Linked DNA regions of Homo sapiens: region 1 is linked to region 2. Evidence: promoter capture Hi-C in 16 types of primary human blood cells and fetal thymus (Javierre and others, 2016). All regions are on one chromosome and are shown on one strand. Each heading gives the region's core, a stretch centred on a gene start or on the middle of the fragment in contact. The rest is flanking DNA. Distances are from core to core; before and after follow the strand shown.

Region 1 (5,685 bases), core at 1,743-4,242, 1.6 Mb before region 2:
AAAGTGGTTTTGTTATAGAAAGAACACTGTTGCTTTTTGTTTTTTAAAAACATTAGAAAATTTCTCTCTGCCTTTTTTTTTTTTTTTTTTTTGGAGACAATGTCTTGCTGTGTCGCCCAGGCTGGAATGCAGTGGCACAATCTCAGTTCACTGCAACCTCTGCCTTCCAGGCTCACTATGTTGCCCAGGCAGGTCTTGAACTAGTGGGCTCAATGATCCTCCTGCCTCAGCCTCCCGAGTAGCTGGGACTACAGGTGTACATCACCGTGCCTGGCTAATTTTTGTATTTTTAGTAGAGATGGGTGTTTCACCATGTTGCCCACGCTGGCCTTAAATTCCTGAGCTCAGGTGATCTGCCCACCTTGGCCTCCCAAAGTGCTGGGATTACAGGTGTGAGCCACTGTGCCAAGCCTGAAAATCTCTTTTAATTGGAATATTTAGATTATTTATATTGAATGTAGTTATATGATTGGGTTTACATCTGCCATTTTTTTTTCTATTTGAGCTATCTGTTCTTCCTTCTTCCCTTTTTACCCAACTTCTTTTGGATTTATTGTTTTTTTATGATTCCATTTTATCTTCAGTATTGACTTCAAAAGTTATCTCTACTGTTTTTCTTTTTAAATGGTTTATCTAGGGTTTACAACTCCTAACTCTAGCTTGTCATAGACTACCTTCAAATAACATTAGACTATATATAAGAGCTCTACAACAGTATGCTTCCATTGCCCTCTTCCATCCTTTTTGCTATTCTTTTAGATTTTATTTCTACATATATTATAAGCTCTGTGACATACTATCATTTTTATTTTAAACACTTAATTATCTTTATTTTTGAAAAGTAGTTTTACTGGCTATAGAATTCTTGATTTTTTTCCCCCAGCACTTTAAAGATGTTGAACACTTTCTATGAGTCCTCCACGATACTGGGTTAGTCAGGAACAAAACAGACAGAAATGGTGCATACTTTTTAATAAGGAGAGCAAGTCAGTATATAATATTAATAATCAATACATATATTATGGAAAGTAGTAAGTTTCTTAGAGAAAAATAAGCAGTGAAAGGATGTGCAGAGAGCTGGGGTGGGGTCACTTTTAAGTAGTGTGGTTAGCAAGGTCTCCTGAGCAAGACTGGAAGGAGGTGAGACAGCAAGACACTAGATATCTAGAAAGAGAGCGTGCCAGGCATTGGGAACAACAGATGCAAAGGTTCTGGGTGGGGAGTAAATCTGGTAGGTTTGAGACAGAGCAAGGAAGCCAGAGAGCTAAAGCTGAGTAAGGGAGGGTTGGGTAATGGTGTCCAAATCACAAGGGTTTTATGGGACATTAAAAAGATTTTGGGAGATGGAAAGCCAGAAGAGGCTACAATTAAGTTATTGACTCGATTGTGTCAGCTGAGGAGTAATGGGGCAAACACAGTTGCATGACTTATTTGGGGAGATTAATTAGGTAGTGTTTGCTGGGTTACACTGCGTAACAGTAAACCACTTCAAAATCTCAGTGGTTTACATTAACATGATTTATTTCTCACTCTGTATGTTTGTAGTTGCGGGTTGGCTGGCATGGTTCTGCTTCAGATCACAGGTCAGATTCAGACACTATGCACATCTTCTCATTCAGTGTCTCAGGCCAGAGGAACAGCCTTGAATAGGACATGACTTTCTCATGGTGGAAGGCACGGGAGGAAAAGCCCAGCTGAACTCATACTTGCCCCTCCCTCCCTCCTAGAGAAAAGAAGGTTGATCTAGAATGAAGTCCTCAGGTCCATATATCTAGACCATGGGGTGGAGCTTGGCATAAAGGGGAAAGTTTCAGAGGGAAGTATGAAGAGGCTGAAAGTGCTTTTCTTCACATGTTACTTTTTGGGGGTGGCCATTTACTTTTGGATCTCTTCCTTTCTCCTTTCTTTTCCTTCCCTTTCTTTCTATTCCCCTCTTGTCTCTTCTCTCCAATGGCTGGAAAGAAGGGCCCAGGGCTACCTCTTCTTTCACTTGGGAGGGTGCCTTGGAAAGCCCAGCAGGCAATATGGCAGGGCCCAGAGGACACATGGACAGTCCAGCCCAAGCCTAACTCTAGACAAAGTGGTCTCTGCATTTACACTTGATCTGTCCAAGCTTATAATAGACGAGGTTCTGAAACCCACTCTTGGATCTATGATGGAGTTGGGCAGTCCGTGGAGGAATAAGGGCCTTGAGATTCTGTCAACCTTTCCATTTGTTAAGACTCGGAAATATACTATATTTGGCATTATATCACTAGGATTTTAAACATATTGATAGGACAGATGGTTTATTGTCTCTGAGGACACAATGTTCTATTGTAAGCTTGATACTCTAAAAGCTTTTAATTTCAGAAAATATATTTTTGCTCTCTTGAAATTTCTGAAAGTTATTAAGTAAAAGAACATAAAGAGAAAAAAACTCTCAAGTTAAAAAAAGTCAAGTATTTTGATTATGCTTGTACACAACATGTCTCAAGGTTGTTCTATTCTGTTACACACAATGGGACAGCTGAGCTCATGCAGTTTTCAGCCTCCTCCCTGACTCTTCCCTTTTGGATCTTTAGCTCCCAGCACCATGCTTCATGCATGGTAGGAACTTGAGAAAGATGTGGTTAATACTGGATTGGAAATGTTTGTATTAAAGTTGAAGGTTAATGTAGGGAAGGGAGGTTTTTGGTGGAGTGAGTGGAAATTTTAGTTCCCAGATATAATGCATTAGTGTGTCTGTAAAGTGCAGTTTACAAAGGACTGCTACATGCAGTGTCTTATTTGTCCTCACAACTCTGTGGGGCAGACATTATTTACATTATTATACATCCCTCTTTTACAAATGAGGCCCGGAGAGGTTAAGTGACTTGTCTACTGTTTTACCCACAGTGATAGTCAGGTCTCAAACCCTCTTCTCCTTTTTCCCAAATGGAAGTAAGAGTTTTCTAGAAGGTGGGGATTAATAGAGGTTTCAGACCTGTAGAAATATTTAAGAAGATGTAATATTGCAATAATATTTATAGCTTTCCTAAGAAACAGCCATGTCAGTGGAATAGAAAGATTGGAAGACAGTTGGCCGGGCGCGGTGGCTCACGCCTGTAATCCCAGCACTTTTGGAGGCCAAGGCGGGTGGATCATGAGGTCAGGAGATCGAGACCATCTTGGCCAACATGGTGAAACCCCGTCTCTACTAAAAATACAAAAATTAGCCAGATGTGGTGGCGCATGCCTGTAGTCCCAGCTACTCGGGAGGCTGAGGCAGGAGAATCGCTTGAACCCAGGAGGAAGAGGTTGGAGTGAGCCAAGATCGTGCCACTGCACTCCAGCCTGGCGACAGAGTGCGACTCCATCTCAAAAAATATGATTTTAATAACCCCACAAACTATTCTATAATATTAGCTCAGTTGTAAATGTATGGTTTTCAAATAATTTAGAGTTGCTAAAGCGGTACAACTCATAATACTAAGAGAACATTGTCAATTCTTTTGCACATAGAAATAATTATTTTCTGGAGTGTTTAAGGACTACAAATCTGTGCCCTGATTCTCTAAAGTATTCATAAGCATTTTATAAAAGACATATATTGGTAAGAATTGCTATTATGCAAAATATATTTCAATTAGGATTTTACTGAATTTCTTATATCATTCAAGCTTTTCATGTCATTTTTTTTTTCAGTGTTCCATAGTTTAATGATGGAATACCTGTGGAAATAAATGTTTTAGAAAACTTTCTCCTATAAATATCAAGACAATCTTTTTTTTTTTTTTGAGACAGGGTCTTGCTCTGTTGCTCAAGTGGGAGTGCATTGGGGGTGATTATGGCTCACTGCAGCCTCAACCTCCCAGGCTTAAGCAACCCTCCCACCTCTCAGTCTCCTAAGTAGCTGGGGCTACAGGTGCATGCCACCACACACCACACATGGCTAATTTTTGTATTTTTGTAGAGACTGGGTCTCACCATGTTACCCAGGCTGATCTCAAACTCTATCAAGACAATTTTGTTAAAAATTATACAACTGCTATTGTTCTGATAGTCATATACCATCCCATGCCTGCCCAAATATAGTGAAGAGTGCATTCACATGATAGAAAACGTAGTGCCCACAGGGCTACAATGCATATCTGAAGCTTGTCTCCACCTCACTGAGACCCAGGGGATTTTGCGTATCGATAGACTTTGTTTTTACAATATTCTCAGTATTCTACTTGTAATTTCAATTGTTAGAGTTCACTTTAATTTTTTTTTTTTTTGAGACGGAGTCTTGCTTTGTCACCCAGGCTGGAGTGCAGTGGCGCGATCTCGACTCACTGCAACCTCCGCCTCCTGGGTTCAAGCGATTCTCCTGACTCAGCCTCCTGAGTAGCTGGGACTAGAGGTGCGTGCCACCACGCCCGGCTAATTTTTGTATTTTTAATAGAGATGGGGTTTCACCATATTGGTCAGGCTGGTCTTGAATTCCTGACCTCGTGATCCGCCTGCCTCAGCCTCCCAAAGTGCTGGGATTACAGGTGTGAGCCACCGCGCCTGGCCCACTTTAAATTTTTAATCTATGACATAATTGTTTTGCACATACCCAAGAAAAAGGACCAAAATATGACATAAGAATATTTTAGAAGTTTTCTCTTGAGCTTTTCAGTACATCTTGATAGAGGGGAAGATATGATGATAAAGTATTTGGCACTTGGGTCAACAATCTAGTTTATTCAGTAGTTCAGCAAATATTTTAAATATATCTACTTAGCACGTAGTCCAAGGGGATGTAGTCTGGAGCAAGACAGACATGGTCTTTGGCCTCCTGGGTTTACAATTTATAATTGCTGGATTACAGAGTATAGAATAGTAACAAAATGATAGAAAACTTAAATGTAAAAGATAAAAGGGCAACGGGAGTCGTGTGAGTTTGAGTGTGAGGACAGATAGCATGGCCATGCTATCTGCTCTGCCTCCTTAAAAGGTCACTGGAAGTTGGTTACTTCCATTCTGATAGAGGCCTCACCCTTCCCTGGCAACCCAGTCCACTAACAGCTGTATTTTGCTGAAGCATAAAACTTTAAGCCAGTGTTCTCTTCAGAGCCCAGACAGTCCTCTGCAGTTTGGAGAGTTCTTCCTGGACTGCACTAACAAAGGCCAACCTGTTTCGGGAAACTCTCGACACTTTCCTCTGTGTCAGCACAGTCACCTGGAATGCGTTCCAGCCGGAGCTGTGACTATTTAATCTCACTTTGTCTCTTAGCCCTGTCATCTTCCACACCCCTGAACTGTCAGTCTCTGTAGGCCTCTGTCCTTTCTGGCGAGGCTATTTCAGCAAGGCTTTAGGCCTACAACCCCTTCTCAAGCCATCCCCTTCATTGTCTTTTTTGCCAGGCCTTCTGCTGTGTGCTTTGGACTTCCTACATGCAGGCATTCTCCAGATTAACAGGGATGCTCATCCTGGCTAAGGATTCCACAGGTTCAAAACCAAGCTCATGAGAGTTCGATGTATTAATTCTCATAATTAGTCATATGTAAGTTTACTGCTGCTGGGAGTGAAGCTGAGTCCAAGATGCGAGGTGCCAGATGCAGAGGCAAAATGATTATATATAGATGGGGGAGAAGACCTTGAGAAAATCTGCTCCGTGGGACCGGACACTCAGGAAACAATTTTTCCTTCTCATGGAAAGCAGATCAGATGCCTAGAGATGATTGTGACCTGCA
Region 2 (5,919 bases), core at 1,412-3,911:
TCTCCCAGGACTGGGGGTGGGAGCAGAGGTAAGGAGGAGGCAACGACACCCAACCACTCCTACCCCGCCGGGCGGCCCGCCCACCCCCCCTTCGCGGGTAAAGGGTCGTCCTGCGGGCCACGGCCTCAACAAGCGCTGGGAAACCGAGGCGTCTCCGCCGATCGCGCACACCTGTCTACGGAAAAGGACCGCCCCCCTCCCCGCCTGGCTCCCGAGCCTCCCCAAAGCAGCAACGGGCGGGGACGAGAAAGGCCCTGGGAGACCGGGCGCTGACCCACGCGAAGACCCGAATGGGGAGGCCCAGAAAGCAAAGGAGAGGATGCGTGGGGCGTGCGGGGGCCAACTCCTCAGCCACCCCCACCCCAGCCTCCGAGCCCAGGGGAGCCCTTCTCCGAGCAGATGTAGGTCACGGAGAACCTCGGTTTCTATTTTGGGCAGGCGAGGATCTGGCAGGAACATGAATAATAAATGCCCCTAAACTTAGCCAGTTCGGCGGCGGCTCAGACTGTGGCGCGTCCGCACCCTCCGGTGCTTCTCGCACGGAGAAAGTGCCAGGCACACGGGAACTTGAAAATAGCTGAGGGTGAAACCAGGGTGTTTTAAGGCCACTAAACGAATAGTTCGCGCTGATCTGTTATCGATGGCGGTGCCCCATCTCAACCCCAGAGCACGAGGAGGGGGACCGAGATCCAGCGAGTGCCTGGCGACTTCGCAGTCGCCCTCTACAGCCTCCGTTCTTGACACAGGACGGGTAGAGATGGGTTAAAACAAATCCCTCTCGCTTTGGACCCCTGGAGAGACTTGGCGTGCAGCCAGCGCTAGTAGCACTCTCTGGGCGGGGTTGGAGTCGTACTTCGCTGCTTCACTCGCCTTTTCTCCATCCTTGGAGAGGCCCGGGCAAGGCAAGCGCATCATTCCGCACGCCTCGCACCCAGCCTTTGCTCGGCGATGCGCCTCAGCCCTGGCCCGGGTACCCCGAACCCTGGGGTCTTTCTGGATATTGCCCTGCCTCGAGCCCAGATGCTGGAATCCTAATACAGAACCCAGAACCCATCTCTCCGTCCAAATCAATGATCAGCGGCCCCCCAGAGCTAATGTTCCTGGGCGGGGCTCGGAGAAGGCAGCTTCGCAGGCAGAACGCGCGCTCCTCGCTGCCCCAGGCGCCGCTGGTACGAACCCTCCCCTACCCAGGGCTCATCCACAGCCTGGCACATCGGTCCGCGACTCTGGGGCTGCCTCCGGGAACCTGGGCCGCGCCTGCCGGTTAGAAACCCGGGGTTAAGAAAAAAGCCAAGGTTCCTCCATCCCGGGCCAGGCAGGGCTGCTCTCCCGGTCCTGCCTGCCTGCTGGCTTTCCCTTCCTCCTCCTTTGCGCCTGTTTTTCCCCCTCCTTCGCAGTCTCGTCCTTGTTCTTCCCTCTCTTAAGTCGCTTTTCCTCAATCACACCGGGCCAACACCCTCCCCACCGCACGCCCCCCAAGACAGCCTGGGATTCAAAATGCAGTTGGAACACGGATCACTTGAAAGAAAGCTCTTCAGGGGAAAGAATTGGAATGAAATGAAAAGAAAGGGTGGAGGAGAGAGAGAGACCCCACCCGGATAGTCCAGAACAAGCAGTAACAAAGCAAAGTCCGAGGGAGCTTCACGCTCAACCCCCGGCCAGGCTCCAGAGCTGAAGTTCTCCTAACTCGTCCCAAGAATAGGTAAAAGAAACCAAGCTAGGGGCCGTGCCCTGCCCCCATCCTGTGGGCCGGGTTGGGGGAGGGGGGGTTCTCCAGCGGCCAGAAGCTCACTGGCTCTACCCGGGACCCTGAGCTGCCTAGGGCTGGGGGAGGCGTCCGAGCAGTCGCGGAGCCTGCCAGACCCTCGGCTAGAATGGGGACCCGCTGTCCAGCCGAGGCTGGCGGAGGCGCACCGGGGGCGCAGAGGGCGATGCTAGTAGTCTGGACCCAAAGGACTGCAGGAAGGAGACCGTGAGGAAGCGTCTGTGCCTGGGAAGCCCCAGCTCCTGCTTGGGCCAGGCAGCCAGCACCTACCTGATCCCGGGGAACCGGAGTCCGGCGGCGGCAGGTGAGCTGTAGACGCTGCTGTGCATGATTATCCCATAGACCAGCAGGGCCAGCCTCGCTCCGCTACACATGGTCATTCTGCGCAGGATGGGAAAGAGGACACACAGCTGTGAGAACGCCCCTGGCCTCCCACCCTCCAACCCCAAAAAGCTCTGGAAGCCGGGGGAGGGACGGAGCGAAGCCCCGGCTCCCTGAGTTGAACAGCACTTGGCGACAGCCGGTGCGCGCCCTGCCACTTCTTGCTTGCTATAGTTAGAAAAAAATATATATATATGCATCTACCCGGCGCCCAATAACTAGCCAGACCCGGCTGAAGGAAAGCTAACTCCCCTGACGCGATGCCAAGCGAAAGAATCAGCAGTCGAGTGAGCCGGTCGCTTTGGTAAGATTTTCCCTCCCTTACCCTTCAACTCCTCCCGCTGCCAGGAGAGCTGCCAGGTAGGACGGCGGGCAAAGCGCTTCTTCAAGTTCCTGCGCTGGAGTCACCACCCGAGAGGCATCGCCGTCTGGCGTTGGTGTCTGAGCAGAAGCCGCAGGAACCAGCGGGAGCAGCAGGAGGAGCTGCGGGACTCGTTTGCCGAGGCTCGTGTTCTGCTCAAAAGTTTGTAGACGCGCAGAACCAGGAGGGAGCGTGACACGGAGAGAAGGGGGCGCAGAGAGAGAGGCAGAAGAAAGAAAGAGGGGGCGATGAGGTGAAGCGCGGAGGAGCAAGGTGGCCGTAAGTCCACCCGGAGGAAGAAGCAGGCGATTAAGGGAAAGAGGGAAAGTCAGAAAAGAAGGGGAGGAAGGCAAGGGAGAGGGCGGGCGGCTAGCCCGCCTTTGTAGGAGCCGCGGGCCAGGCAGCCGCGAGGGTCGGCGGCGCCTTCTCTGCTCCGAGGTCTCTCCGGCTGCCTCTGAAGCTGCGGCTTCTGCTGCTGCTACCGCTGGTTACAGAGGTGACCGGCCTTCTGCTCCTATTTATCTGTGCAGTTCGCAAAAATCTATCCGAACATGGTTTTTGGAGAGCCCTCTTTGTCAACATCTGCCTGCCTGTTGCCTTTAAGTACAGAATATTTTGTTGCACTGTTGCGCTCCGATTTTTATTCATGAAATGACTTCCTTTTTTTTTTTCTCAGTCACGTAATGATCGGGTATCAGAAAAAGACGTCAGCATCCTAGTCCCTCAAGGAACATATTAACTATTCTGTGCTGTCCTCTTGGATGATAAGATCCGGAGTCATCGACTTCTCATAAACACCTTTCACTCATACAATCCAATTTTTAAGAAGTCCAATTGTTTTGATGGTTTTCAATTTCACCCGTTTCTCAAGGACAGGTAAAGAATTTTTAGAATTTTGAGGATGACAAAAGTTATGTTTTTAACTATATAATTACGATTTCTCTTTACTTTTTCATCAAGCCTCACCAATCAGAGCTCTGGTCTCTGGAATTAAGCATCATCAAGCTCTCCTATTAATAAATTTAATTTAGATCTCCTAATTTCTTGCGTATGTTCTTTCAGATAGACCATTAAATGTGGAAGTCGTTTTGTTTTTAAAGGGAAGTCTTGGAGGATTTTCAGTAAATCTCTCCTGAGTCTGGCTGCCGTTGACAGTAGGGCTATGAGTAGATTGATGAGAGCTCATGCTGCCTCCGGAGCGCGGCCTGCGGAGCTGTCCAGACTCCGGGTGCTGAAGTGTAGGGTAACAGATGCTACAAACGTTGAAAATTGCCACCGGTTTAATTTTTCACCAGAGCCTCTAAATTTGAAGATTTGGCAGTAGTGCTATTAACGTGGCGATTCATCGCCTAAATCACCCCCACCGTTCAGATACATCCTTTCCCTCTTGTAGCGTCCATAAATGCCCTAATGCTGAGAATGCTCCCCATCCCTGCCTGGATTTGAGGAAAAAGCATTCTGTCCCCCGTTAGTCCTGGCTTTTGGATTTCTAGACCGGCTGTTTGGCTACTTTCACACCTTCTGTGGCTCTTACAGATTTTAAAAATTGATGTTGTGAAATTGTGTTTTCCACAAGAAGTGAAATTTTAAGAATTTGGGGGCGAGAAATATGTTTTTCCACTTTGTTTACAACTTCAGCTCTGTTTGGGAGACACAGACAGACTGGGAAAGCATGAGGGTTCCCAGTACAAGTTCACCTGATGAAGGTTTCTAACAGGAATCCCTCTGCTGGAAACAGTTAATTTTTTTAACTGAAAATGATGTGGGAAGAGGAAAGCAATAAGGGAAGACCATATCCACCCAGAGGCTTCCAATTTCCTGGGTAATTGAAGAAGGTTCATATATTTCTACTCCAGTAAGAGAACTCAGGTCTATTTCTTTAAAAAAAAAAAAAAGAAGAAGAAGAAAGAAAGAAAGAAAATAGAGCCATCAATAACCATTAGAGTGCATTTTAATTATTTGGATCTTACACAAAAATTAGGGGAAATTCCAGTTTAGTGGGAGGGTTTCCTGTTACTACGATTTGGATCTCACATTTAAATAAGCTATATTAGTTCTGCATGCTTTTTCCAAGATATTATATTTCTCCTTCTAAATGCTGTTCCTGCTCTTATTTGAGATTTAATACTTCCTCCTTCTTAAAAAAAAAAACTAAGTTTTGTTTATTCCTGGCCATGAATGACCGAAAACTGTCTGCTTCCTCTTAGTTTATTCCTGGCCGTGCTTCAGATTGTCTGCCTTCAATAAAGCTTCAAACCACATCTACATGGGAATATGTCTCTTTTTCTCTGATACATATGCTCACTGATTTATGTTGGACTGTTTACATGCGTGTTTTCCATGTTCAGCTCTGCCTCTGCAGCAAGCTCGCACACAAAGAGCCTGCGGTGAACACTACCAGATAATCAAGCAGAGATGTCTTTCTTACTAAAGCGCCCAAAGCTATTCCCCACTGTGGCTTTCCTGTCTTCCGCCTTGCTTCACGTCAAAGGTGAACCCCATTAAAATCCTTACTCTTTCCTCCCACACGAATTCTGAGTTGAGTTCAATCTGGAGAAATATTTGAAAATTTCCAAGACTCCTTGTACAATTCACTACTCAACTTTAGTAAAGGGAGCCACCATGTGGGGAGTTTGCTGACTTCACGGCCCATTAAAGGGGGAAAACCACAAACACGATTAACTATCTGGGGAGGACGACTAACTGCTGGCTCCAAGGGCCAACAGAGGCTGAACTGTGCCTCTGACTTACCAAGGCTGCGACCCCGTGCTCTTCTCAGCTTAGATACTCTCAGCTCAGAACTCGGGGCTCAGCACCCAAAAATTACAGGCCTTCAGACCTGAACCCATTCACGAGAGTGAAAGACTAAACAGAGAACTTGAGATTCTTGGTCACTGAACTCCAGAAAATCAAGCTTCCTAGACCCACCAATTGCTCAACACAATCTAAAGACCCACACAGCCCTGCCCACAGCAGCCTGGGGGAATCAAACTCCTACAGGATCACCCACAGATCTTTTGTTGCTCATGGCCATTGTCTAGCTGGGCATGTTTGACATCTCTCTGCAGGAGAGCTTTCCTATTCATGAAAATCTGGCCTTGGCCCTGGGCCAAGGGAAAAGGCCAATAGATAGGAGGAACTAGAAGCTGCTAGATGAGAGTATAGGCCCCTTCTGCTTTCTATTGGGTAGAGGGAATATGGGATGACTGAAGTCTCAAAGACCAAAACTACCCCCAAATGCCCCTTTGATTCTAATCTTGGAAGGCTCCAGTCAAGCATTAACAGAGCATCCTGGAGGCCTTTGTGTCTGGGACTTTGAGGGAGCTGCAAGGAAGAGGGAACTTGTCAGCCCAAAGCCCCAGGCTAGAGAGACCAGGAGCCCCGGCATGCACTGAGGAGGCATGCGGCAGTG

What was found. Contacts are between HindIII fragments. The CHiCAGO score rates a contact against its expected background, and 5 or more counts as called.
Region 1: a contact is called between a fragment that was not itself captured here and the fragment with the promoter of ADCYAP1 in region 2, in 1 of 17 cell types (total CD8 T cells). The highest score is 5.4, in total CD8 T cells.

What each region holds. Positions count from the first base shown.
Region 1 is chr18:2,518,144-2,523,828 of GRCh38, reverse strand. No RefSeq gene overlaps it. Among named protein-coding and RNA genes, the nearest start is that of METTL4, 51 kb to the left of the region's middle. The HindIII fragment of the contact is 1,302 bases long and covers 2,342-3,643 here.
Region 2 is chr18:901,613-907,531 of GRCh38, reverse strand. ADCYAP1 (adenylate cyclase activating polypeptide 1) reads right to left here and starts at 2,661. Exons shown (of 5, transcript NM_001099733.2): 1 at 2,472-2,661; 2 at 2,036-2,146. The coding sequence starts at 2,145. It overlaps LOC124904340 (a long non-coding RNA gene), which reads left to right and starts at 880. Exons shown (of 2, transcript XR_007066435.1): 1 at 880-2,450; 2 at 3,184-4,768. The HindIII fragment of the contact is 10,218 bases long and covers 1-4,758 here.